4 separate regions of the Homo sapiens genome follow, and regions 2, 3 and 4 are each linked to region 1. The links are contacts of gene promoters, found by promoter capture Hi-C in blood cells and fetal thymus (Javierre and others, 2016). All regions are on one chromosome and are shown on one strand. The core of a region is centred on a gene start or on the middle of the fragment in contact, and the rest is flanking DNA. Distances in the headings are between cores, read along the strand shown.

What was found. Contacts are between HindIII fragments. The CHiCAGO score rates a contact against its expected background, and 5 or more counts as called.
Region 2: a contact is called between a fragment that was not itself captured here and the fragment with the promoter of GABBR2 in region 1, in 2 of 17 cell types (endothelial precursors and M2 macrophages). The highest score is 6.5, in endothelial precursors.
Region 3: a contact is called between a fragment that was not itself captured here and the fragment with the promoter of GABBR2 in region 1, in 3 of 17 cell types (M2 macrophages, M0 macrophages and endothelial precursors). The highest score is 5.4, in M2 macrophages.
Region 4: a contact is called between a fragment that was not itself captured here and the fragment with the promoter of GABBR2 in region 1, in 2 of 17 cell types (M2 macrophages and M0 macrophages). The highest score is 6.4, in M2 macrophages.

What each region holds. Positions count from the first base shown.
Region 1 is chr9:98,706,106-98,711,941 of GRCh38, reverse strand. GABBR2 (gamma-aminobutyric acid type B receptor subunit 2) reads left to right here and starts at 3,007. Exons shown (of 19, transcript NM_005458.8): 1 at 3,007-3,525. The coding sequence starts at 3,205. RefSeq lists enhancers at 1,621-1,915, 3,668-4,238, 4,810-5,381. The HindIII fragment of the contact is 8,458 bases long and covers 1-5,285 here.
Region 2 is chr9:98,470,701-98,476,536 of GRCh38, reverse strand. It overlaps GABBR2 (gamma-aminobutyric acid type B receptor subunit 2), which reads left to right. Exons shown (of 19, transcript NM_005458.8): 6 at 3,191-3,391. Among named protein-coding and RNA genes, the nearest start is that of TBC1D2, 220 kb to the right of the region's middle. The HindIII fragment of the contact is 4,198 bases long and covers 238-4,435 here.
Region 3 is chr9:98,503,651-98,509,486 of GRCh38, reverse strand. The region is part of intron 3 of GABBR2 (gamma-aminobutyric acid type B receptor subunit 2); the gene reads left to right. Among named protein-coding and RNA genes, the nearest start is that of GABBR2, 200 kb to the left of the region's middle. RefSeq lists an enhancer at 392-922. The HindIII fragment of the contact is 3,639 bases long and covers 1,855-5,493 here.
Region 4 is chr9:98,548,061-98,553,896 of GRCh38, reverse strand. The region is part of intron 2 of GABBR2 (gamma-aminobutyric acid type B receptor subunit 2); the gene reads left to right. Among named protein-coding and RNA genes, the nearest start is that of GABBR2, 160 kb to the left of the region's middle. The HindIII fragment of the contact is 500 bases long and covers 3,110-3,609 here.

The DNA.
Region 1 (5,836 bases), core at 1,758-4,257:
ACATCAGATCATGTCACTGCTCCACCCAGTAGCCTCCCACGGTTGCTGTTTCATGTGCCCTCCCAGTGCTGAGGCCCCATACAGTCCTACCTGCCTTTGACCTTGGATCTGATTGCTTTCCCTTTGCCCACTCTGCTCTACCACATTGGCTTCCACATTGTTCCTTGAACATGCCAGGCACACTCCTGTCTCGGAGCCTCTGCCCTTGCTGTTCCTCTGCATGGAACACTATTCGCCTGTCTCTCTTACTTACCTTCTTTATGTCTTTGCTGAGGAGTCACCTTAGTGTGTCTTTCCCTGACCTCCCTATTTCAAATTGCAGCCCCACTCTGCCAGTCTCAATCCTCTTTCCTGCTTTTTTGTTCACCATAGCACTTTTCATAAATGGGCATACTAACATATCTTCTTCTTCCTATTTATTGTTTCTCTTTCTCCACTAGAATGTCAATTCTACAAGGGCAGGGATTTTGTTCTGGTTTTTTCCTTCCTATATCATCAGCTCCTAGGACAGTGCCTAGCAGGTAGCATGCCCTTCAAAACACTGGTCAAAGGAATGAATGATTATTATAAAGCAAGACGCTGGACCCCAGCTCTGGAGGAACATGCATTCTAGGCTGGTGACTGAGGCAGGAACTCAGACTCAGGAAGCACATCAGGGATGCAGTTACCCAAACTGTAATACCAGGCCAGAGTAAGATCTTGGAACCAGAGGGATGCCCAGGCATTAGGAGTGGGCTGTGAGATCAGAGATTGGCCTGGAGCCATGCTGATGGAGAGTGAGATTGGTGCCCCCTGGGTCAGGGCAGATCCCAGGTCATGCGTCTTGGGGCCAGGTCACCCCACCATAAAAGAAGACAGAGGGGCTGTAGGGCAGGATGCCAGGTAGGGCCTTCAACCCCTTAGTAAATGTCAGGCAAAGTTACCCAGCTTTCAACTTATTCCCAGATGTAGGTGTCAGTGGACACTCTATATTGGCACAGCTTGCAAGGAGGACACAAATGACTAAAGGAAAGAATTAGAAAAAAGAAAAAAACCAAGTGAAAATGTTCATTCAGAAACCTGAGCTAAGGGTTTGAGGAATGGCAGGTGCCAGAAGACTATGACTGGAGGATATTTGTGATGTCAAGTGAGACAGCAGTTGAGCGAGTATCTGGGGATTACACTGTCCTTTGGACCATTTCTTTCCCTCCCTCCCTTCCTTCCTCCCTTCCTGGAGGAGATGCTCAGGTGAGTTCTGTTCATGCAAACCCTCCAGCTTGGGGAAAAGGAAATGCCAAGTGGAGCCGGGAGAGGTGGAGTCTATAGAAGCCTGGAAAGAGAAGTTAGGGCAGAGAGAATTTGGCCTGGTTTCCCTGGCGCTGTCCAAGGTACTCTCTAGTAGTTCTGCTCAGCCTCCACTCACATCTTTGTGCTTCCTAACAACTCAGCCTGGATTCAGAGCTGCCCTTGCCTCACTCCAGTAGAGCTGGTGTGTGGCCATCATCATCATCATCCGGTCCAAATCCCTCACCATATGCCGGAGGGAATCGATGTCCAGAGCAACTGAGTCAGGGCAGTGCTCCTCCTGGAGAGGAAACTTGCAGTCCCACATCCCTGGCTCCCACTGCACTGTGCACGGAGTTCCTGCTGGCTCTGGGTTCCGGTCCTTCAGTAGCTCTGTGTGCTTCCACTAGCTACAGAACCTCTCTGAGCACCAGTGTATTCGCCTGTAAAGTAAGGGTGAGTAACACAGTATGCTTACAGGGCAGTTGTGGGGATTACATCATAAGGCACACAGTAAGTACTCAGCGAAGGTCAAACTTCCATTCTTGTTACAAGGTCGTCGATATCTTCCACAGTCCCTGGTTCAGGCTCAAGTATGTTTTGTGATTTGATGTCCTACTGTGTTCCTCGCATTAATCAGCCCCTGGGACTTTATAGATTAATGATCACGTTTCCTATTCTTGAAGTATGCAGAGGCACAAGGAACCCAAGGTCTTAGGTCAGCTCACTCGGGTACATCTGGCTCGGGACTGCTTTGGCTAAGATTGGCCAGTGCGACCTGGCAGAGAGAGGGCCAAGTCCAGGGGCGCGCGGCCCCGCCCTGGCCTGAGGATAGTGCTCCCACCCCGGGAGACTTCTAGGGCGGGGCCCATCAAGAATGGGGACGCGGGGAGGTCAAATGCCTGGAGGGGGCGGTAGCGCACGTAAGGTTGGGACCCCAGCTTTGCTTGGGGTTGGCAAAGGGCGGTCGCTCCGTCTGGTGGGGAGGAAAGGGGTGTCCTCAGCCAAGGCCCTAAAGGCCGGGCAGCCTGGCACCAACGGGCGTTCGAGCACCCGTGGGCGTCTTCAGCGACCCCCGGGACTCGGTCAGGGGCTCGTGGGCGCCAGAAAAGAACGGGAGAGCGTAGGCTGCAGATGCCTCTGGGACGCCTTCGTGGAACATTCTCCTGCCCAGACCTTCCCGGCCAGACCTCCGAGAAGCGGTTCCAAACCACCGTGCAGGTGCTACAGGCAGCGCTCGGCGGAGCGGCGGCGGCCACTGCGTGTGCCAGCGCGCGGTCCCGGTTCCCAGATCGCTGTCCCCGGGCGCTCTGGTGCCTGGAGGTCAGCGGTCGGCGGGCAGCGGCAGCTGGCGCAGCGGAGGGCCGGGGGCGCGTGTGTGCGTGTGCTGGGAAGGTGGCCCTCCCCGCGGCCGCCGCAGCGCCAGCGCCTCCCCCTCCCCCGGCGCGCACGGCTCGTCCCCGTCCCTGGAGGCGGCCCGAGCCGCCCCTGAGCAGCCTCGCCTTCGCCTCCCGCGTTTCCTGCCGTCCGCCCTCCCCCGGCCGAGCTCCAGGGGCTGCCGCCTAGCAGCTCCCGGCGGGAGAGCGGTTCAGAGCGCGCACGGGGGCGGGCGGAGGCGGCCCGGTGCGGGGCGGCCGCGCTGGAGAGAGGCGCGCGCGGAGACGCCGGCCCCCCTCTCCGCGTTTGCTCGCTTGCTCCCCGCCTCCCGCACTCCGCTCGCTCCCACCCCTTCCCGGCGTGATTGATCCGTCACGGGCGCCGCCGCTGCCGCCGCCGCCGCCGCGGCCGTTCTGAGCCGAGCCGGAACCCTAGCCCGAGACGGAGCCGGGGCCCGGGCCGGCGCCATTGCGCGGGCGCCGCGGGAAGACCTTGGCGCGGGGCGGCGGGCCGGGCCAGGCCATGCGGGCCGAGTGAGCCGGCGCCCGCAGCCCGCGGCGCGGCATGGCTTCCCCGCGGAGCTCCGGGCAGCCCGGGCCGCCGCCGCCGCCGCCACCGCCGCCCGCGCGCCTGCTACTGCTACTGCTGCTGCCGCTGCTGCTGCCTCTGGCGCCCGGGGCCTGGGGCTGGGCGCGGGGCGCCCCCCGGCCGCCGCCCAGCAGCCCGCCGCTCTCCATCATGGGCCTCATGCCGCTCACCAAGGAGGTGGCCAAGGGCAGCATCGGGCGCGGTGTGCTCCCCGCCGTGGAACTGGCCATCGAGCAGATCCGCAACGAGTCACTCCTGCGCCCCTACTTCCTCGACCTGCGGCTCTATGACACGGAGGTGAGTGTCCGGCTGCCCCTGCCGTCGGGGCTTCGGGGGGCATTGGGGTGGGTGGTTTGGACACAGGCAACCTCCGGCCTTTGGTCAGATCCCCGATTGACCGGCCCGCGCCTGCCGAGGGCAGAGAGGGCTGGTGCCCAGTGTTCACCCCCGCGGTCCTGCTGGGCTTGGCTGGCACAGCTGGTAACATTTGCCAAGCACCCCCTCCTCTGGTCTTATGTGTGTATGTGTGTGTGGGGAGGGGTGGGGGTGGGATAGAAGACTGGGGTCTCTTTTGACCAGAGAAAAAGGAGTGGAGAAGGTGGGGGCTGGACCCCCAAAGGCCTACATTGATTGTCCCTGTCCAGGTCCCGCTCATGGGGCTGCGAGGTACCGAGTGGGAGGAACAGGCGCATTGACTGCAAACTGGGCCACCCAGGGCCGGAGGGGCCGCGGGCCTGCTCACAGGCCCCCAGGGAAGCCGAGCCGCGCTTTGAGGTCCGGAAGGCTCCGGAACCCAAGGGGCTTGAGCGTGCAGCGTGGCTGGGCGCCTGGTGCGCGCCAGCAGCTCTGAGCCCGCTCCGCGCGGGCAAGTGTGGGGCCACCGGCTCTGCAGCGCTTCTGCCTGGACGTGCCCGGCGCTGCCTGTGGCCAGAGCGATTTCAGGAGACCCCTGCCTCGGGTTAGTTGCTCAGAAAGTGCCCTGGCAGTTCTCGTCCCGGACGTGCAGTGGTGTCCGGCCGCGCCGCTGCTGTTGGCCGGGCGGCTGCAGGCAGTTTCTCACGGCTCAGGCTTGAAGCATCCGACCTAGCAGCCGGAGCACAGACTTGGAGAGCAGTCCGGAGCGGAGCCAGAGAGCCAAGGGCTTTCCATCCCAAGACCCCTCCCCACGCCCTCGGTTTGGGTTCTGCCTGAAGCCCCAGAGCGGACCTTCACCGCCAGGCCGGGGCTGGAGCGCGCGGAGCGGGTCTGGAGGAGCGATCGCTGGCCGCGCAAGGTCGGGTTTGCGAGTTTTTCCGGACCGAGCGAGCCCCTGTGCTCCGACCGCAGCGTCTGAGACGCGGCCTGAAGGGGGCAGTGATTTCCTGTGCAGTACGCTCGGTTGGCGCCTCTTCCATCGCGCGGAACGGGGCCGAGGCGCTGGGCTTGATCCTGGCTTCCTGGGACTCTCCGGGCGCTTCTGCTGGAGTCCAGGTGCAGAACCCTTTTGGGAGGAGGGTCGCGCTACTGCTCTGGTGGTGCAATCTGGGCTTCCCCTCCTCCTTGGTCGGACCCTCTTTATGTCCCCAGAGAAAGAGCAGAATCTAGATTGTATCTTATTCCCTGCCTCCCCCGCTTCACCGGTGAACCAGCTTGCTCTGCGCTGTAAATAAAAGGTGAAGGAACCGGTGGCAGTTGGCAGCGGTACGCGCAGGCTGCTGCAGGCGGAGAGGCGTCCTCTGCCCCAGAGGATGCAAGCTGGCTGGCTGTGCAGGGCTAACCCGGTGTGAAATCATTTCCGAATGACATTCCTATCGCCCTCGTCTTTGCCTGAGCATCTCAAGTTCTGTGGGGGTACTTGTCTGGCACACATAAATGGAGACAGCAATGCAGTTACACGGAGGCATATCTTCTTGACAGTTTCTCTGTTGCTACTGCACATATTCTTCTGGAGGGGTCACTGCAAAGCCGGTCTTTTGGGGACAAACACATTTTTAGATAGGGCAGCCCTGCTTGCATCATCACCAAGTATTGTCAGCTGCATAATGTTTTCATCATCAGTTTCTTCCCTTTAGAAAGCTTCCCTGAAAGAGATTTCATACTGGCCTGTTTGTGGCAGCAAAGAGATGGGTGCTTCGTTTCAGGGTGTGGGTTGAAGCCTTTACATTTTATTTTTCGAGTGTGTCTTGATGACTTTCTGAGTGAAAGGACCCAAAGTCAAGAGGATGAGACAGTCAGAAGACTCTTCAATTCGTGGGAATATTTAGAAAACAGTGGGAAGGAAGACAGAAGATAATTTTAGCTTCGTGCAAACAGAGAAGTGTCTCTAGCCTTTTGAAGGGGCCCAGAGCCAGGGCTTTGGGGTAGGTGGGGCCTGGGTTTTAGTGAGAAACTGGTTACTTTCCACCCTGGATGACCTTGAGCTGGGTATTTAATCTCTCTAAGCCTAGGTGGGAATATTATGTGTACTCTGCAGGTGACACACAGCTTAAGGAAGATAACAGGCCAGGGTAGAAGATGCCCTGAGCTGGCAGGCTCAGCGGCCAGTGCTCTGGCATGCTGTAAGCACTAAATAAATGTGTCCTGCTGCCTCCCCTCCTCCTCCTCCTTCTTTTTTTTTTTTTTTTTGTTT
Region 2 (5,836 bases), core at 1,087-3,586, 230 kb after region 1:
ATTCTTAAACCAGTACAGTGAGGCAGGCTTTGCTTTCCTCTGTCTGTCCATGGGAAAAGTGGGGCTCCAGGAGTTGTGTGCATGAGTTACCTGGCAGGCATGTGGCAGAAAATCTGCTGTTTGACTGTATTATTTTTTTCCCCAAAAAGTCAGAAGCTAGGTTAGAAAAAGTTTTGTCTTCATCAAAATTGACTAATGTTCTAAATAAAATGTATTATCATTCAAATGGAATAAGCTTCTGTTTTCTGGAAAACTCACTTACAAGAAACAGCTACAACAGGACAGTAGCTGGTTGAAGAACTGTCAGAGCTGATCTGATTTTCTGCTCTGAACTTCCTGCTCAGTGCTGCCTCTTAATTAATTACCACATGGTCTTAATTATCACATGTGTGAAGAAAATCTGCCTTTGTGTCTGATCAGAAGGCCTTTTCATATCCTCACTCTGAGTTTTTTTGTTTGTTTGTTTGTTTTTTGAGACAGAGTCTCACTCTGTCACTCAGGCTGGAGTACGGGGGTGTGATCTCAGCTCACTGCAACTTCTGCCTCCCAGGTTCAAGCAATTCTCCTGCCTCAGCCTCCTGAGTAGCTGGGATTACAGGCATGTGCCACCATGCCCAGCTAATTTTTGTATTTTTTAGTACAGACAAGGTTTCACCATGTTGGCCAGGCTGGTCTTGAACTCCTGACCTCAAGTGATCCGCCCACCTCGGCCTCCCAAAGTGCTATAGGCATGAGCCAACGCGCCCAGCCACTCTGTATCTACTGATTCTTACTTCCTCATAAGTGGAGCTGTCTCCTTGCCACAACCTTATAAGATTGAGAAAACTTCCAAAAATCCTTTTGTTTTGTTTTACTAAGAGCGGAACTTCAAGAATGGACTTTGAGTCTTGTCCCTTTGACTTACCAGCTATATGTGTTGAGAAAATTTCATCTATAAAATTTAGATAATAGTGCATACCTCATAGGGTAGTTGTGAGAATAAAATAATATATAAAAATAGCAACACACATAATGGGACCTCAATACACATGAGATCTCTGTCAGTAAAAGATGAGAGTTGTGAAGTCTTACAGGCTCTGCCATTGATTAAATGACCTGGGATTACTAGGGTGACCCTTTTATTCAAAAGTCTAGTCCCCAGCCAGGATCTGGCATTTCTTTTCTTTTCTTTTCTTTTCTTTTTTTTTTTTAAAGTTTCTGTGGACTAAATTTCATTCATTAGAGAGAAGCCCCGGAGACTGCCTGCTTTTCTTCAGCTGGGATTTTGTTAGGTAATTAAAATACGAGAGTTTTCTGTATTTTCCATGACAGTTTTGTTTGGGGCAACATTGTAATGTAGTTGCTGCAAAAATGACTGTGATCTGAGGTTGCATTATGAGAAGTACAGTGTCTAAAATGAGGGAAGCGAAGGTCCTGTATCATCGAAGGAGTCTAGTGAAGAGACAGTGTGATCACTGCCTTGAGGTAGTTGAAGGGGTCTTTTGTTAAGCAATGTCTATTTAATCTTCAGATACCTTGCCGAACCAATGGATGGAGACCACAGAGAGGGGATCTGAGCTTAAGTCAAGGAACAAATCTTTTAACTCACATGTACCCCAATGAGCTGCTCCACACTGCAGCCTGGGCTTTCTCAGGTATTAAGGGTGTTTTAGAGGAGTAGCCTCTGGACTTGGGATGAGGAGAGTGCCCCTCTGACTGTTAGAATTGATGGTAACTTTTCTCTAACATATAGGAGTTGTTGGGAGCTCTGGCCTCCCTTCTGTGGACAGACCCTCACTTTAGCCTCCTGGAGCCTAAGTGGAAGGCAGCAAGAACCTTCCCAGGGTCCAGAGCAATCTCAGGCTTCTCTCCCTACACCCTCCTGTCCTCTCACATTAACCCTGCTGTAGGCCAAGGGGTGCGACATGAATGGTTCCCCAACATCTCCTAATGTGGGTGACTCCCCAGGATTGAACGGAAGGATTGTTTAAGGTTTCAGTTTAGAATGCGGGCAGTCCATCAATGCACAGAGGAAATTTCCATCCACCCCTGCTCTCTGTAGTCACTTCTGGGTATTTTGTTTACTTACGGGTACATGACCACCACTTAGAAACTTTATTCTGAACCCAATTTTGATGGAACCTGACAGTCCTACAAACTGGGACTTTTCTGCTTGAATCAAAGCTATCAAAAACCATGATTTTCCTGATATAAAATAATGACAATAAGAATTAGAGTCAAGTAGGGGTGCATTAGAACCTTCTGATGACTTTTCTTTAAATGGAAGGCAAGCAGTGTAGCTTTGTACCCTTAAAGTCAGCAGAACTAGATCCAGGCCTGACTTTTCTCCCTGACTGTTTGACCTTGGAAAAGTTACTTTCCCTCTGATTTTCAGTTTCCTCCTCTCTAGAATGAGGATGATAAACCACCTCCCAGAGTGAATGTGAGTGACAATCAAATAAGATCCATGTAAGATATAAAAATGTAAGGGAATTTTTTTAGGATCTGAATTTATACACTCTGTGTTTTGGATAAAGATTCAGAGCGACTTCTCGGTTTGCCAAGTGGCATCTTATATAAACTACACACTTAGATTAAATTGCCTTGGCCCCTTAAAAATTATTCCCCCTGGGTTGTGTTATGAGGCCTCAGCTTTTAGTAAAGATCTATACAAAAATTAGCTTTATGAAATCTCTTTGTTGTAGAAGTTGTGTTGATACTAAACTGGCTAATTTGACAGTATCCTCTCCATATGGGACATTTTTAGGGTTAGAGACTAGAAAATACTTTGTTTCCCCAAAGATCTGGTATGTTTTCTCCTTATTGATAATGAGAGTTGTGTAAATAACCTTGTTGCCCTTTTCTCTTGGGCTGCTGGGAAGTTCATGGTGAAATTTGCAGCTAATGATGAATATGGTTAGAACCTTTGGTCTGTCTACATTCTGTTCCTTCTATCTTCAGGAAACATAATTTATATTTTTATGGGCCCTTATGTTTTAATTTTTATTCAGTACTTATTATTTTATTATACATGTTATCCATAAACTACCTTGGATCCTTTGATAAATAGCAAGGAAGAAACCAAACAAGTAATTAAACATTTCCTAAATCCTCTGGGAAGAGGAAGCCTTCCTCCCCACCTGTCTTCCAGGGCACAGAGCCTTGAACTGTGCGACTCTCAATGCCCTCATAGTCACTCCATCTTTTACAGGCATACGAGGAGAACATGTATGGTAGTAAATATCAGTGGATCATTCCGGGCTGGTACGAGCCTTCTTGGTGGGAGCAGGTGCACACGGAAGCCAACTCATCCCGCTGCCTCCGGAAGAATCTGCTTGCTGCCATGGAGGGCTACATTGGCGTGGATTTCGAGCCCCTGAGCTCCAAGCAGATCAAGACCATCTCAGGAAAGGTCAGTGCCTTGGTCCCCATTTCAACCTTCTGGCCCACCTCCTTTGATCATCTTGTCTGATGACATTGGCCAAAAGAGCACATTTATTGTCCTGTGTCACTTTGAGCAAATCACTTGACCTCTCTGAGCCTCTTGTACCTGTAAAATGTGGTATGTACAACCCTCCACTGCTTACCTCTCTAGGCAACTGTGAGACCCAAATGAGGTAAGGATATTGTGAAGCACATAACACAGTACACATGTTATGTATACATATATGAATAATAGAGTCCTGGCATCAACTTCAGGGCCCTTTAGACTCTGTAAAAGTTCATCCCGTGCTCCTTTTACCTAAGATGTCATTCTCAGTTGTGTTGATGCTCTCCTGGAGGAGAGGAAAGACGCCTTAAGTAGACTTTGGGAAACACATGCTGTAGAGCTGCCAGACTGCGTCAAACCCCAATTTTACCACTACCACCTGTGTGACCTTGAACCTGAGTTCTCCAAGCCTCTGCTTCTATATCTGTGTGGATATATATTTTTAGGGGCCACTATTCAGCATACTGTTGTGATCTTAGGATGTCCCTTCTATAGATATATCTTCTATATCTCTGCTTCTATATCTGTGATAACCCCCTTCTGGGGGTTATCAGGAGGATTGATGGCAGGTGGTGCAAGCCACTAGCATGGTGTCTGGCACCTTGATGCTGTCACGACTGTGAGCAGGACCTTGGACAGGGTGTGTCAGCCTCAGGGCCTCTGCATGCTTCCATGAGGAGTGTTACTAATTCCTGCCCTGCTTATCTCATAGGGCTATTGCGAGGACCAAGTAATATAGGACATGTAAAAGTATTTCCAAAGCACACCATTCTCTATCATTGTAAGTCTTATCAAAGATCAGGTGATGATAGCCCTGGTAAAGGTGGTAACATCCATTTCTCAATTCTGAACAGCAGCCAAAATTCAGCACAGCAATGCACATAAGTCTTTTCTGAGTTCAGAAGTTAAATTATTCACTCAACCCCCAGGGTTCTTACAGACCAAATTTTATATCAAGAAAAAGCTTTATAATAAGGAAAAATATATGTATATAATTTTATGTATTATTTAATCTCAATTGGAACCAACTCTACATGAATGATTTATCGATTTGTCAAGAAATGGCAAATCATTAGGACATATTTTGTAAACAGCTCTTTAGCTCGTACTGGCACCTGGTTAGAAAATGTTGAAAGAAATATTTTCATACCAAAATCAATGCATATATAACATTTTTTTGAGATGTTGAATAATGAGCAGAAATAACTCATTTATTCAGTAAGTGTTATTTTTAAAGGTGTCAAATTTTGCAATTTATTAAGATCCTTGGGTCCAGGGATACCCTGTATTTTAATCTAAAAATATCATAAAAATTGAGGAAAACACAAAACCTAAGGGAAAAAAATATCCATGAAAGCAGATGGTACAGTAACTAAATGGAGAGGCTTCAGGAAGACCAAAGACTTAAATGGTTGCACAGGAGATCTGTGAGGCTGTCAGGATGAGAGCCATGAGACACTACAGGAAGGACCTCCCTCGGATATAGTTCTAAGGGTGTGGCTTTCAGCCAGGGTGGGAGCCATGCAGGGCTGTGTGCAGGGCTGTGAGCAGTACACGAGAGTGCATTGTAGGAAGATCATTTTTTGTAGTGTATTTGGGAGGAAATGTTTTGGCATTTGTAACAACATCCCCCAGATCACTGACTTCCCTTTTCTAAATTTTCTTATTCGGGATTGGTGAAGAGGCTGACCTCTTGCCCATCACTGTCTCATGCATGGGACACCTTGGGACTGTTCACCTCACAGTTTTGGAAAACCCACTCATAAGCCCACCCCCTGGAGGGGACAGGACCATTGAGGTGGCTTCCAAAAGTCCAGGAGACCCAATCCCTGTCCGCATGGTCTTTGAAGCAAGAGGAAGCATTTCTTACATTACCCCACAGTTACGAGATTGTTAAAGTTACACAAGGAAATTTGAAGCCTCTTCGCTTCTTGGAATCAGAGGGTCCCAGAGCTGCTCTTAGACATTATGGAGTCCAGCTTCCCATCAGATTCTCAGATCTTCCAGTAGCAAAGGAATTCTCTCCTTTAATTCTGCCACCCCTAGGTCCCACTGGAGCTACTCAGATCCTATTGACCCATCTGTCCCACATAGTCCTTCAGTGACCACAGAGTCACTGCTTCTCCAAACTAAACAGCGCTAGTCCTTCCAATTGTTAGCTCACAGGTCCAGGGCTGGGACTAAGCCTGAAATTTAAAAGGGTGCCAGATACATCGGTAATCAAGATTAAACAAAATATGTTAATGCAATTAAAATAATGCCAAAAAAAAAACCCCATGATGAACAAATTGTCAAAATTTTAAATAAAGACCAGATTCACAGGACAGGGATTAGGGTGAGGAAAGTGAGGTGAGTCATGCCAGTGCA
Region 3 (5,836 bases), core at 2,425-4,924, 200 kb after region 1:
TTCCTCCTGTAGCTCGGAGTAGTTTGATCATCTGAAGTCTTCTTCTCTCAACTCGTCAAAGTCATTCTCCATCCAGCTTTGTTCTGTTGCTGGTGAGGAGCTGTGTTCCTTTGGAGGAGGAGAGGTGCTCTGATTTTTAGAGTTTCCAGTTTTTCTGCTCTGTTTTTTTCCCATCTTTGTGGTTTTATCTACCTTTGGTCTTTGATGATGGTGACGTACAGATGGGGTTTTTGGTGTGGCTTTCCTTTCTGTTTGTTAGTTTTCCTTCTAACGGACAGGACCCTCAGCTGCAGGTCTGTTGGAGTTTGCTAGAGGTCCACTCCAGATCCTGTTTGCCTGGGTATCAGCAGTGGTGGCTGCAGAACAATGGATATTGGAGAACCGCAAATGCTGCTGCCTGATTGTTCCTCTGGAAGTTTTGTCTCAGAGGAGTACCCAGTCGTGTGAGGTGTCAGTCTGCCCCTACTGGGGTGTGCCTCCCAGTTAGGCTACTCGGGAGTCAGGGACCCACTTGAGGAGGCAGTCTGCCCATTGTCACATCTCCAGCTGCATGCTGGGAGAACCACTACTCTCTTCAAAGCTGTCAGACAGGGACATTTAAGTCTGCAGAGGTTACTGCTGTCTTTTTGTTTGTCTGTGCCCTGCCCCCAGAGGTGGAGCCTACAGAGGCAGGCAGGCCTCCTTGAGCTGTGGTGGGCTCCACCCAGTTGGAGTTTCCTGCCGCTTTGTTTACCTAATCAAACAACTAACTCAGCAGTGGCGGGCGCCCCTCCCCCAGCCTCGCTGTTGCCTTGCAGCTTGATCTCGGACTGCTGTGCTAGCAATGAGCGAGACTTCATGGGCGTAGGACCCTCCGAGCCATGCGCGGGATATAATCTCCTGGTGCGCCATTTTTTAAGCCCGTTGGAAAAGCGCAGTATTAGGGTGGGAGTGACCCAATTTTCCAGGTGCCGTCTGTTACCCCTTTCTTTGACTAGGAAAGGGAATTCCCTGACTCCTTGCGCTTCCCTGGTGAGGCGATGCCTTGCCCTGCTTTGGCTCGCGCACGGTGCGCTGCACCCACTGTCCTGCACTTACTGTCTGGCACTCCCCAGTGAGATGAACCCGGTACTTCAGTTGGAAATGCAGAAATCACCCATCTTCTGCATCGCTCACGCTGGGAACTGTAGACCGGAGCTGTTCCTATTCGGCCATCTTGGCTCCTCCTCCCCAGGGAATGGTTTTGAAGTGGGCTTGCTTTGGTGCTCTCAGGTGTGATTTCTTAATATCCGTCTTCTAGTTTGGTGTCAGAGGCTCACTTTGCATATTGCTGATTTCCTATAGAAGTTTCTATTCATCACCTTAACTATATAGCCTCCCTGTTTTATTAATACCCAGTGTTTTTGTAAACATTGGTTTGGTCCCTCGAGTCTGGAACAATTAAAGCAATGGGCAGTTTGTCACAAGGAAAGCAATAAGGTCTGATGGCTAATTTCATTCCCCAACAGCTCAGCATAGCCTGACTTCACCGACTGCTCCTAGAGTGGGTGAGGTCCTTGAAAAATGAGGGCCAAAGGGAAGACTGATGGTTGGGGATGCCCAACAGGAAATTTTTGTGCATTATCCAAGAAAGGTGCTTGGACCTGGTCCTGCTTCCTCAGGCAGCCCCTGTGCTAGGCATCTGGAGGGGCAAGAGGTGTCCCAGATGGAAGGTGTGTGAGATATCAGGACATTCATTCTGTTTAGCCGAGAAGAGGGATCTTGAGCCCAGGACTGTGGAGTTCAGAGGATAAGTCACTGCTAGCCTGGGAACAAGGGAAGGCTTCAAACAGCATGTTGGCATTTCAAGATGTATGGGATCTCAGGGTGAAAGCTTATTGTATCAGTTTCCTGTTCTGCTGCAACAAATCATCATAAATTTAGTGGCTTTAAACAACACAAATTATTATCTTATAGTTCTGAAGATCAGAAGTTCAAAATCATTGGGTCAATATCAAGGTGTTCTTGATTTTGACTGGTTCCTTCTGGAGGCTTTAGGGGAGAATGTTTCCTTGCCTTTCCCACCTTCTAGATGCTGCCCGTGAGCCTTGGTTCCTGGCCTCTTCCTCCACTTTCAAAGCCAGCAGCAGAGCATCTTTGAACAAATTTCTTCCCTGACTCTGACTTTTCTACCTCCCTCCTTCCCTTATAAAGACCCTTGGGATCATGTTGGGCCACCAGGATAATCCCAGATGGTTGCTCCATCTTGACATCCTTAACTTCATCCTGTCTGCAAAGTCCCCTTTGCCACATAAGGTAACATATTTTAGGGATTTGGACATGGACATTGTTGGGGGAAGGGCATGACTCTATCCATCACTGATGATTCTTTGGAATTTCTAAAACTGAGAAATCAGTTTTCCATCAGCCTGGCTGATCGAAAGAGGGATTTGATTTGATTTGAAAGCCAGAGCAGCCCCAGTTGCCTTCTTGAAATTGGGCCGAGGGTGCGTTTCTCCCCTACAGTATGTGGTTCTGGGAGACAGGCCTCCGAGGAGCAGTGGTGGGCTGGGGAGAGGAGCAGCCTACAGCCTCCCTGCCCTCCCTCTGGAGGACTTTCATAGTGCAGTGATAGTGCTGACAGCTGGCATTGTGGGTTGGGTGTGAGGGCCTGTAGCTCTACCAGGTGGGATCTCTGCTCCCAATTGCCATGTAGGCCAGCTGGACTCCCAGCAGGTAGGAGCTGCCATGAGGTCTTGATGTGTGTAGCTGGGCAGGTCTCAGGTCACAGGTGCCTGACACTCTCTGCCATTGTGAGAGAGGCAGGGAACTGTCCCCAGGGAACTCCAGCTGCCCTCAGGCCCCATATGTCCCCACAGGGGTGCCCCCAGAGCACCACAGCTCTCCCCAGATTTCTTCCTTCATTGGGGCCCTGATAGAGTTCCAGCTAGCGCTGCCCCTGGGACTCACCCCTGTGTCTGCAGACTGGGTCTTCAGCCTCAGCATGCAGCCCAGCCCTTGCGAAGTTGCCTCATCCCTGCGAGACCAGCTCAAGATGGGTCTAGTGGGCTTGGAATATTAACCTCCTCCATCTAAGAGTGGGTGGCCATGGTGCAGCCTCAGCATGCACTCATCCATGCTCTCATTCACCACAATTCTGAGCACCTACTATATGCCAGGCACTACACAGGATCCTGAGATCAAAACAAACCAAGTGCTTCCCTCCTGGAGCTGACACGTCCATGGGGAAGAAAATGTTACAGCCCCCATACTCATGGTCATCTCTTTGCAAGTCAACTCAAAGTCAGTGATGCAGACTCCTGAGCCCTCCACTGAAGCTCCATGAGGCCAGCGCCCCTGTCCCAGGCACCCACATTTCCACGATGCACAGCGTATGGTCCTCCACTTGTTTCCCTGCTTTTGGTAATTCTGGAGATGTAAGAAATACCATATATCTTTGGGACAGACAAATGGTGCCATCAAATAGAGGGAAACTGGGGTTCCATTCCAGAGGCCTTGACATGTGATGTGAGCATCTAGATTGGATAGGAAGCCCAGGCTTCTCCATGGGAACCTGCCCCAGGTGTATTAGTTTCCTGTGGCTGCCGAAACAAATCGCCACAAACTAGGTGGCTTAAAACAACAGAAATGTATTGTCTCATAGTTCTGGAGGCCAGAGGTCCTAAATGAAGGTGTCAGCAGGCTTGCCCTGGAGTCTCTAGGAGAGAATCCTTGCCTGCATCTCCCAGCTTCTGGTGGCTCCAGGTGCTCCTTGCCGGCAGATGCATCACTCCACCCTCTGCCTCTGTCTTCACGTGGACTTCCCCTTCATGTCTCTGTGCCCCAAGTCTCCCTTTGCCTTTCTCTTATAAGAATCCTTAACATTGGATTTATCCAGGATGATCTCATCCCAAGATCCTTCAGTTAATTACGTCTGCAAAGACCCTTTTTCCAAATGAGGTCACATTCACAAGTTGTCAGGGTTAGAACTTAGACCTATCTTTTTTGGAGGTCACATTTCAAGCCACTGGCTCTGCACTGTGAACATGCATGGGTCACACACGCACATGCACACACACACACACACACACACACACACACACACCTGGATACAGCTGGATATATACCCACAGGCATTCCCCAAGTACAGCTATTCCCCTTGTGCAGCAGATCTAATACATATTCAGTTACACACTTGCCCTTTACATTTTTTTCACTTACTTTCAAATCTGGTTACAGATGATTAAGAGCGAACTTATTTGTAGAAATCTAAAAAGTAGGTGGCTCCATTTCTCAGAAGGAATGCTCTCTTAATGAATGCACATCAGGTTGGACAGGCAGAAATACACCACATGGATAAGTTTTTAAGCATATGCCCCAATTCTTTGAAAGACCTCACTATCTATCAAAGCCACCTTCTCCGTCATTAGAAAGCTATGGGGTTTTTTGGCATTGGGCCAAAATCTAATTTCCTGAACCATCTTACCTGTTGGTGCTCCAGCACCACGGGGGTGCGCAGAACCTGGTGCCCCCCCTCTACATGACAGCTCTCCTGTGTTTGAAGTCGGCTTTGGTCTACACCTCTCCAGGCTAATTTTTTAATTAGCTTAAATTAATGGCAGTTCCTGGGGAGCTCCAGCCCCAGTAAAAGTGGCCTGAATTATTCAAAGATTTGAGTGTTTCAAATGCCTGTTTATCCTAATTAGCATCTTAGCTACAGCGGTGCCCTCTGCCTCTAAGGAGCCACATTTTAACATGTTCCATATTTTAATGGATTTTCCTTGAATGAACTGTTTAATCAAGTGAAGACACATTTCATGAATGAATAGAAGTAAATCTATAATTATACACTTTAGTCAGGTAAGAGGAGTGACATTTCGGCACAATTCATGGCTATATATAGCAAGTGCATTTGAATGACAAAGTAGGTTACCTCAGCTTCCATAGGAGAGCTGAGAATTCGCTTTGCTCTCAAGTTCATTTCGTAACCTAATTAGAATTTTCAAAGAGTTGTAAAGTGCATGTGGTGCAGCCCTGGTTCTCCCCATCTTTACCTGGATCTGTGCCTTTCTGGATGGTTCCTCTGCTGGTGCAGTAGCCTCATTAGGGAAGTTGTCTGGGGAACTACTGGCCATAGAAGCTGAGTGCCTTGAGATCTCTGGAGCTCTCTGCAGCCTCCAGCCACTGGCTGTGAATTTCACTTGCCCATGGGAGCCTTCTCTGTGTGGGACACGTGGTCTGAATGCAGTAGCAAGTTGCTATAACAATATTCTGCTTCTCTCTTCTCCCTTTCTTGCTTTCTGTCTCATGTCTTCCTGCCTCCTTTCCTTCTCTCCATTTTCTCCTCTGCCATAGTCAGGTTCTGCTCGGGGTGCTAAGGGCCAGGAGTAGAAGGGCCTGAGGATTAAAGATGAGATGTACCTACTAGAGGGGGCAGGAGAGAGCAGGGGAGCAATCCTGGTGCCCTGGGTCTGGAGGAGATGGGGACAGGGGGCTCGGGGGTTTTCAGACAGGCTGGCAACCCAGCTGTAAGCTTGATGATTCTGTTGCTCTTACCCCAATCAGTAGCCACTTTAGCTACACATTGGAAACTCCTGGAAAGCTCTAAAAATACAGATGCCTGGGTCCTATCCCAGAGGTTCTGATTGGTTTAGGAGGCAGTTAGGGCATCAGCAGTTTCTAAAACTCCCCAGGTGATTCCAACATGTAGTCCCAAAGTCTTTAGGTGACGGCAGCCCCAGCCAGCATCCTAACCACAACCTCCTGAAAGACCCTGAGCCAGAAACCCCCAGTTAAGTTGCTCCCCATTCCTCACCATGGAAACTGTGGGGGACAGTGGATGTGTATTGGTTAAGCTGCTACGTTTTGGGATAATTTG
Region 4 (5,836 bases), core at 2,110-4,609, 160 kb after region 1:
AAGAATCATAGCACTCTGCAGAATGAGCAGGGACTTGTGACATTAGTCTCCCTGCTCTGCCAGTTGCTTGCGGAGTGATCATGTGCAAGTCACTTATCCTCTCCGAGGCTCAGTCTCCTCATCTGGAAAATGCAGATCAGAATCACATCTACTTCATAGGGTTGTTTTGCACATTAAGTGAAGAAGTGAATGCTAAGCCCTTCATGCAGTGCTTGCTCCACGGTACGTGCTCATTATTTCATAATTTCAAGAAGTCAAAATATCTAAGCTCAGGTCCCAGCTTTGCCTCTTTTTTTTCCTCTTTTTGAGAAGGGGTCTCCTCTGTCACCCAGGCTGGAGTGCAGTGGCACAATCACAGCTTACTGCAGCCTCAATGTCTCAGACTCAGTTGATTCTCCTGCCTCAGCCTCCCGAGTAGCTGAGACCACAAACTCGAACCACAATGCCTAATTTTTTGCATTTTTTTGTAGAGATGGGGTTTCGCCATGTTGCCCAGGCTGGTCTTGAACTCCTGGCCTCAGGCAATCCTCCTGCCTCGGCCTCCCAAAGTGCTGGGATTACAGGTGTTAGCCACCGCACCTGGCTGCTTTGCCTCTTACTAGCTATGGGGCCCCAGGCAAGTCACTATACCTCCCTGAGACTCAGTTTCTCCCACAGGAAACAAAGGCACTAATGTCTCCCTTACAAATTGTCACAAGTTCCCAATAAGAATATGCTGAGTGCAGTGGCTCACACTTATAATCCCAGCACTTTTGGAAGCCAAGGCAGGAGGATCACTTGAGGCCAAGAGTTTCAGACCAGCCTGGGCAAAATAGCGAGACCCCTGTCTCTACTAAATATAAAAAATAAAAAAAATAGCCAGGCATGGTGGCACGTGGGTATAATCCCAGCTACTCAGGAGGTAGAGGCAGGAGGATGCTTGAGCCCAAGAGTTCCGGGCTGCAGTGAGCTATGATCATGCTACTGTACCCCAGTCTGGGTGACAGAGTGAGACCCTGTCTCTAAGAAAAAGAAAAAGAAAAAAAGGACTGGCCACAGCAGGGGGTGGTAAAAGCTGAACTGCTGTGCATTTGATGAAAAACTAAACCTCATTAACAGAAAGGAGAAATGATTGTTCCCCAAGAGGTTCTAGCCCAAGCTCTCTCTGACTAAAGAGATTTAAAATCTTACAGCCAGTCTATGCACGATACCCCAGAAGGCCTTTTGTTGGAGTGGGGCTTCCAGAACTCACTCAAATGCCAGGCATTCATTTTCCCTTGTTAACTTGGGAAATGCTTTGCAGCCACCCCGCATCACATTAATCTCACCGGCATCTATGTTGAGGCACTTTTTGTCCAAACAGTTTTTCACCAGGGCTTGAGCACAGCGGCGACCTGGCGCAGACCTGAAGTGGACCCGAGTTCCCAACACACACAGCCTGGGGCCTTTGTATACATCCTGGCACTGGCCACAAACAGTGTTTTGTCAGAAGCTTCCTGAGAAAGTTGCGTTCCATTCATCTCAGCTGAAAGGAACCCTAGATGACAAATACCTCCCTCATTTAATTACAGAAACAGTCAGCAAAGTCGTGGAAAAAGATTAAACCAACAGAGAAAAGAGCAAGCCTCAATCATTTTCTCATCCCTTTGCATTTGGCCTGAGTTCCTTACCTAGGACTTAGCAACTGTGGTCCCCCCTGCCCGGTTATACCTGCCTCCTGAAAAAAATGGTTTATTTTTGCAGAGAAGCTAAACTCGGATGCCCCAAAACAGGTGAAGAATGAATTGCATTTAGGCAAGAATTCGTCAATGCCTTGGAATGTCATAAAGATCCTGAAGCTGGGAGATGAGTTTACATTTTTCGTCTGGGTTCGTATCTGCAAATGGAAGTGAGGCACAATGGCAGTTATCTGAATAAATCAGATTAAATAAAACACACACCCACACAAGACCAAGAAACTCCTTAATCATTTTCTTCAATGTTCGCGAAGCATAGATTTTTGTGGTTGCAGAGAACCTTTGAAATCTTTGGTCCAATCCATCACTTTCAGAGATGAGAAAAACAGACATCTAAAAGGGGGGAAATGACTTACCCTTGTTCTCTCAGTCACAGGGACAGGGTTAAGCCTAAATGTCCCGGCTCCCTAAAGAGGCCTCGTAGCTGCATGAGCTCACCACTTCTCTCTGCATTCAGGTGCTGCTTGTTAAAGTGACTCATGGTTCAGTATGCAGGCCCTGAACGCTCATGAAACATATCACGGCAGGCTAGAGGCCTCCAGCTGGAGAGAGATGCTCATGGCTCTCTTCCCACCCCATGCTGCTGGTTAAATATGTCTCCTCCAAAACTTGCTGTGTTTGAGAGGCCCTGGAAGCCATGGCATAAATTGTTCCCTCCCTGGTCTACTGGATGACCTTTCTGGGCCACAGTTTTTTCAGGTATAAAATGGATCATAATTTCTACCTTGGGTAATCTGTCTGAAAGTTTTTGTTTTGTTTGGTTTGGTTTGGTTGAGACAAAGTCTTGCTCTGTTTCACTCGCCGAGGCTGGAGTGCGGTGGCATGATCTCAGCTCACTGCAACCTCTTCTTCCTGGGTTTAAGCGATTGTTCTGCCTCAGCCTCCTGGGTAGCTGGGATTACAGGTGCCCACCACCACGCCCGGCTAATTTTTGTATTTTTAGTAGAGACAGGGTTTCACCATGTCGGCCAGGCTGGTCACAAATTGCCGACCTCAAGTGATCTACGCACCTCGGCCTCCCAAAGTGCTGGGATTACAGGCATGAGCCACTGCACCTAGCCCTGTCTGAAAGTATTAATCACCAAGTCAGACGTGTGTTCATAAAAACTCTCCTTTGGATGGCTTAGACTGTGGCTGGCCGATTGGGTGGTTGGGTCATTTCTCCATTCATTCATCTATCCACTGTCAAGCAGGCTTTACTCTCAGGCATGTTAGAGAATGGATTTTTTTTTTGAGTGAGTGTAGGATGAGGAAATAAAAACAAAAATCCTGTCCCCCAGGAAGATTGCAAAGGATCCCCCGTGTGAACAGACTCTCCACAAATCCAGTATCTATGAACTCTCTGGCAATCATAATCACAGGGAATGCAGGGGACTTTATGCATCTGTAAAGCTTCAGAGTCCACAAAGTTCTTTTACATCCTGCCATCACCCCTCCAAAGCAGGCAGGGCAGAGCTTACAATCTTAGTTCTACAGATGCAAGAAGGACTAGTGGCCTAAGTTTGCACAGCTGGGAAAAGACAGCGTTGAGGTCCAAATCCAAGGTCTTTGGAGTCCAGGGGTCTGAATCACACTCAGCTGCTGCCCGTCTTTGCCAGGATGTCTCTGGGATTCAGACTGAGGGGCTTGTATCATTTCTGAGGGGCTGTGGTGGTGAGGATGGAGGCAGTATGACTTAACAGTACTGGTTCCACTCCTCCATTTCTAAGTTGCATGATCTTGGACAAGTTCCTTTTTTCTTTTTATATTGTGGTAAAATGCACAAGATAAAATTCGCCATTTTAACCATTTTAAAGTGGATGAGTCATTGTCATTGAGTACATTCACAACGTTGTTCAACCATCACCACTATTTAGAGCTGAAACATTTTCATGCTTTCTTGGGCATGAAAGCTTTTGTGCTTTCGCCCCAATTTGCTTTGTTGGGCAAGTTTTTTAACCTCTAAGCCTCGGTTTTCTTATCCATACGATTACTAACGGCACCTGCCACAGGGTTGTTGTGAGGATCAGGTGGGATAACTGGGAAGACTTGGCATAGATAAAAGGTGATGGGTGGGGGGCAGTTATACTAAATTTGTATACTGAGAACTAGGTTATAGGATTTGGACAGGACTATCTTGACGCTCCAGGATGAAGGTCAAAGCTGCTTCACCTTGCCCATATGCTGGCTTCAAGGCAACCACTCATAGTGCTTAATTCTTTGTGAACTTGGTCCTTGACACCAAGATTCTGGAGGATTTTGCCACTCCTCTGGCCAGGTGGCCATGGATAGTTCAGGGGAGCCATCAGGCCCTGTGGTCTGGTCGTAGATTGGGTAGTACCTGGATGCCATCATTATCAGAAGCACTCAGGTCACTTCCTGGGGTGGGAGTGAAAGAATGAGATGCTATTTAAGGATCTTCTGTGGGCCAGGATGTGCTCAAGACTCCCTGGGCAACTGCTCAAAACAAAGAGAATGCTGGTGATCCAGGTTTAGCCTGGCTACAGACTGGGGCAAGCAGGGCGGTGGGCAAAAACCCCATTCAGTGCCCAGAGCTGGCCAGTATGGGATGAGCTGGGCAGTCTTATCCACCAGCCCCCAGGGGCATGGCAGCACCACCACATTAGAGAGCAGTTTGATGGTACCAATCATGAACCTTAAAAACCTTCACACCACCTTGTGGTTTAAATGGCATCTGAACAACGTGAAAGAGGGTGCCAGGCCCTGCCACATATTTGGTTAAGTCAGACTAAATTTATTCGTGATTTTTCTAATACTTTTACTAAACTGACTTGAACTTTATTTTTGCAATATTTGAGAACATATGGTTTACTAAATAAATAAATGGCATAAACCAAAAATGAAAAAAAAGGGTATTTGGCTACTCAATAAAACATTTGGTACCCAATAAAACATTTTTTTAGCTTTCCTTTGAAACTATCAAAACATGGAAAAGAAGCCAGGCACAGTGGCTCACGCCTGTAATCCCAGCACTTTGGGAGGCCAAAGCAGGTGGATCACCTGAGGTCAGGAGCGCAAGACCAGCCTGTCCAACATGGTGAAACCCCCATCTTTACTAAAAATCCCAAAACAAAAAGAAATTAGCTGGGCATGGTGGTGGGTGCCTGTAATCACTGCTTGGGAGGCTGAGGCAGGAGAATCGCTTGAACAATCGGGAGGCGGAGGTTGCAGTGACCTGAGATTGCACCACTGCACTCCAGCCTGGGCGATAGAGCAGGACTCCATCTCAAAGAAAACCAACCAACCAAACAAATAAACAAACAAAAAAACATACACATACATACACTCTCAAGGAACCAAGAGACCCCAATACTCATTGATATTCTAGATGTTTAGAAGCTTCATTAATTACAAAGTAGATGGCTCTAGATTGAGAAAATCCTAAGCTTTGCTTCCTAGCATTCCAAACCTTGCCTCATAAAATAACAATTGTGTTGAAAATTAACAGGTAGACCTTTTCCTTTCTCCCCTACAATCTGAGTTAGACTCAGGACTCATATCAACTAGAAAATTGGATAGCTATTGCCTCTACCTAACAGTTGCTGATCTCTGAGACAACCAAATTGCTTTTTTCTCTTTATTCTCATCTCTCTTTCACTAAACTCAGACAGAGCTATACATTCCTAGGGGGAAAAAAAACCTGGATGAGAAGAGGAGGGGAGCACACTAGATGTGAATTGCATTCTGGGAAGCAGAGACTTCCCACATGAAATTTTTTAGGCAGGAAAGAAAAACCCTAGCAGCAGTGCAGGAAGGGAATTTAATGTACTGTGTTGATCTAGAGTATTAGAAAATTGGGCACTGAGGGTAAAAGATGATGTCACTTATTTAATGTAGACCAGCCTAAGGTGAAAGCCTACTAGACACCAAAAACTGTGCTTAAATACTTATTCTCCGGCCTTCTGAGAAGTATATGCAATTAAAACGTAAATAGAAAACAGGGCCAAGTGCCGTCCACATGTGTCTCTTGATAAGCCCAGCCTGAAAACACTTGCTTTGCTTTTGAGGATTAATAAATTTAAAACACCTTTGAAAAAGTACTTCAAAAATAATGAAAAAAAGCAGAGTACTCAGAAGAAGTGGAGGAAGAGTCCATCTCTGAAAATGATCTATTGTAGGAT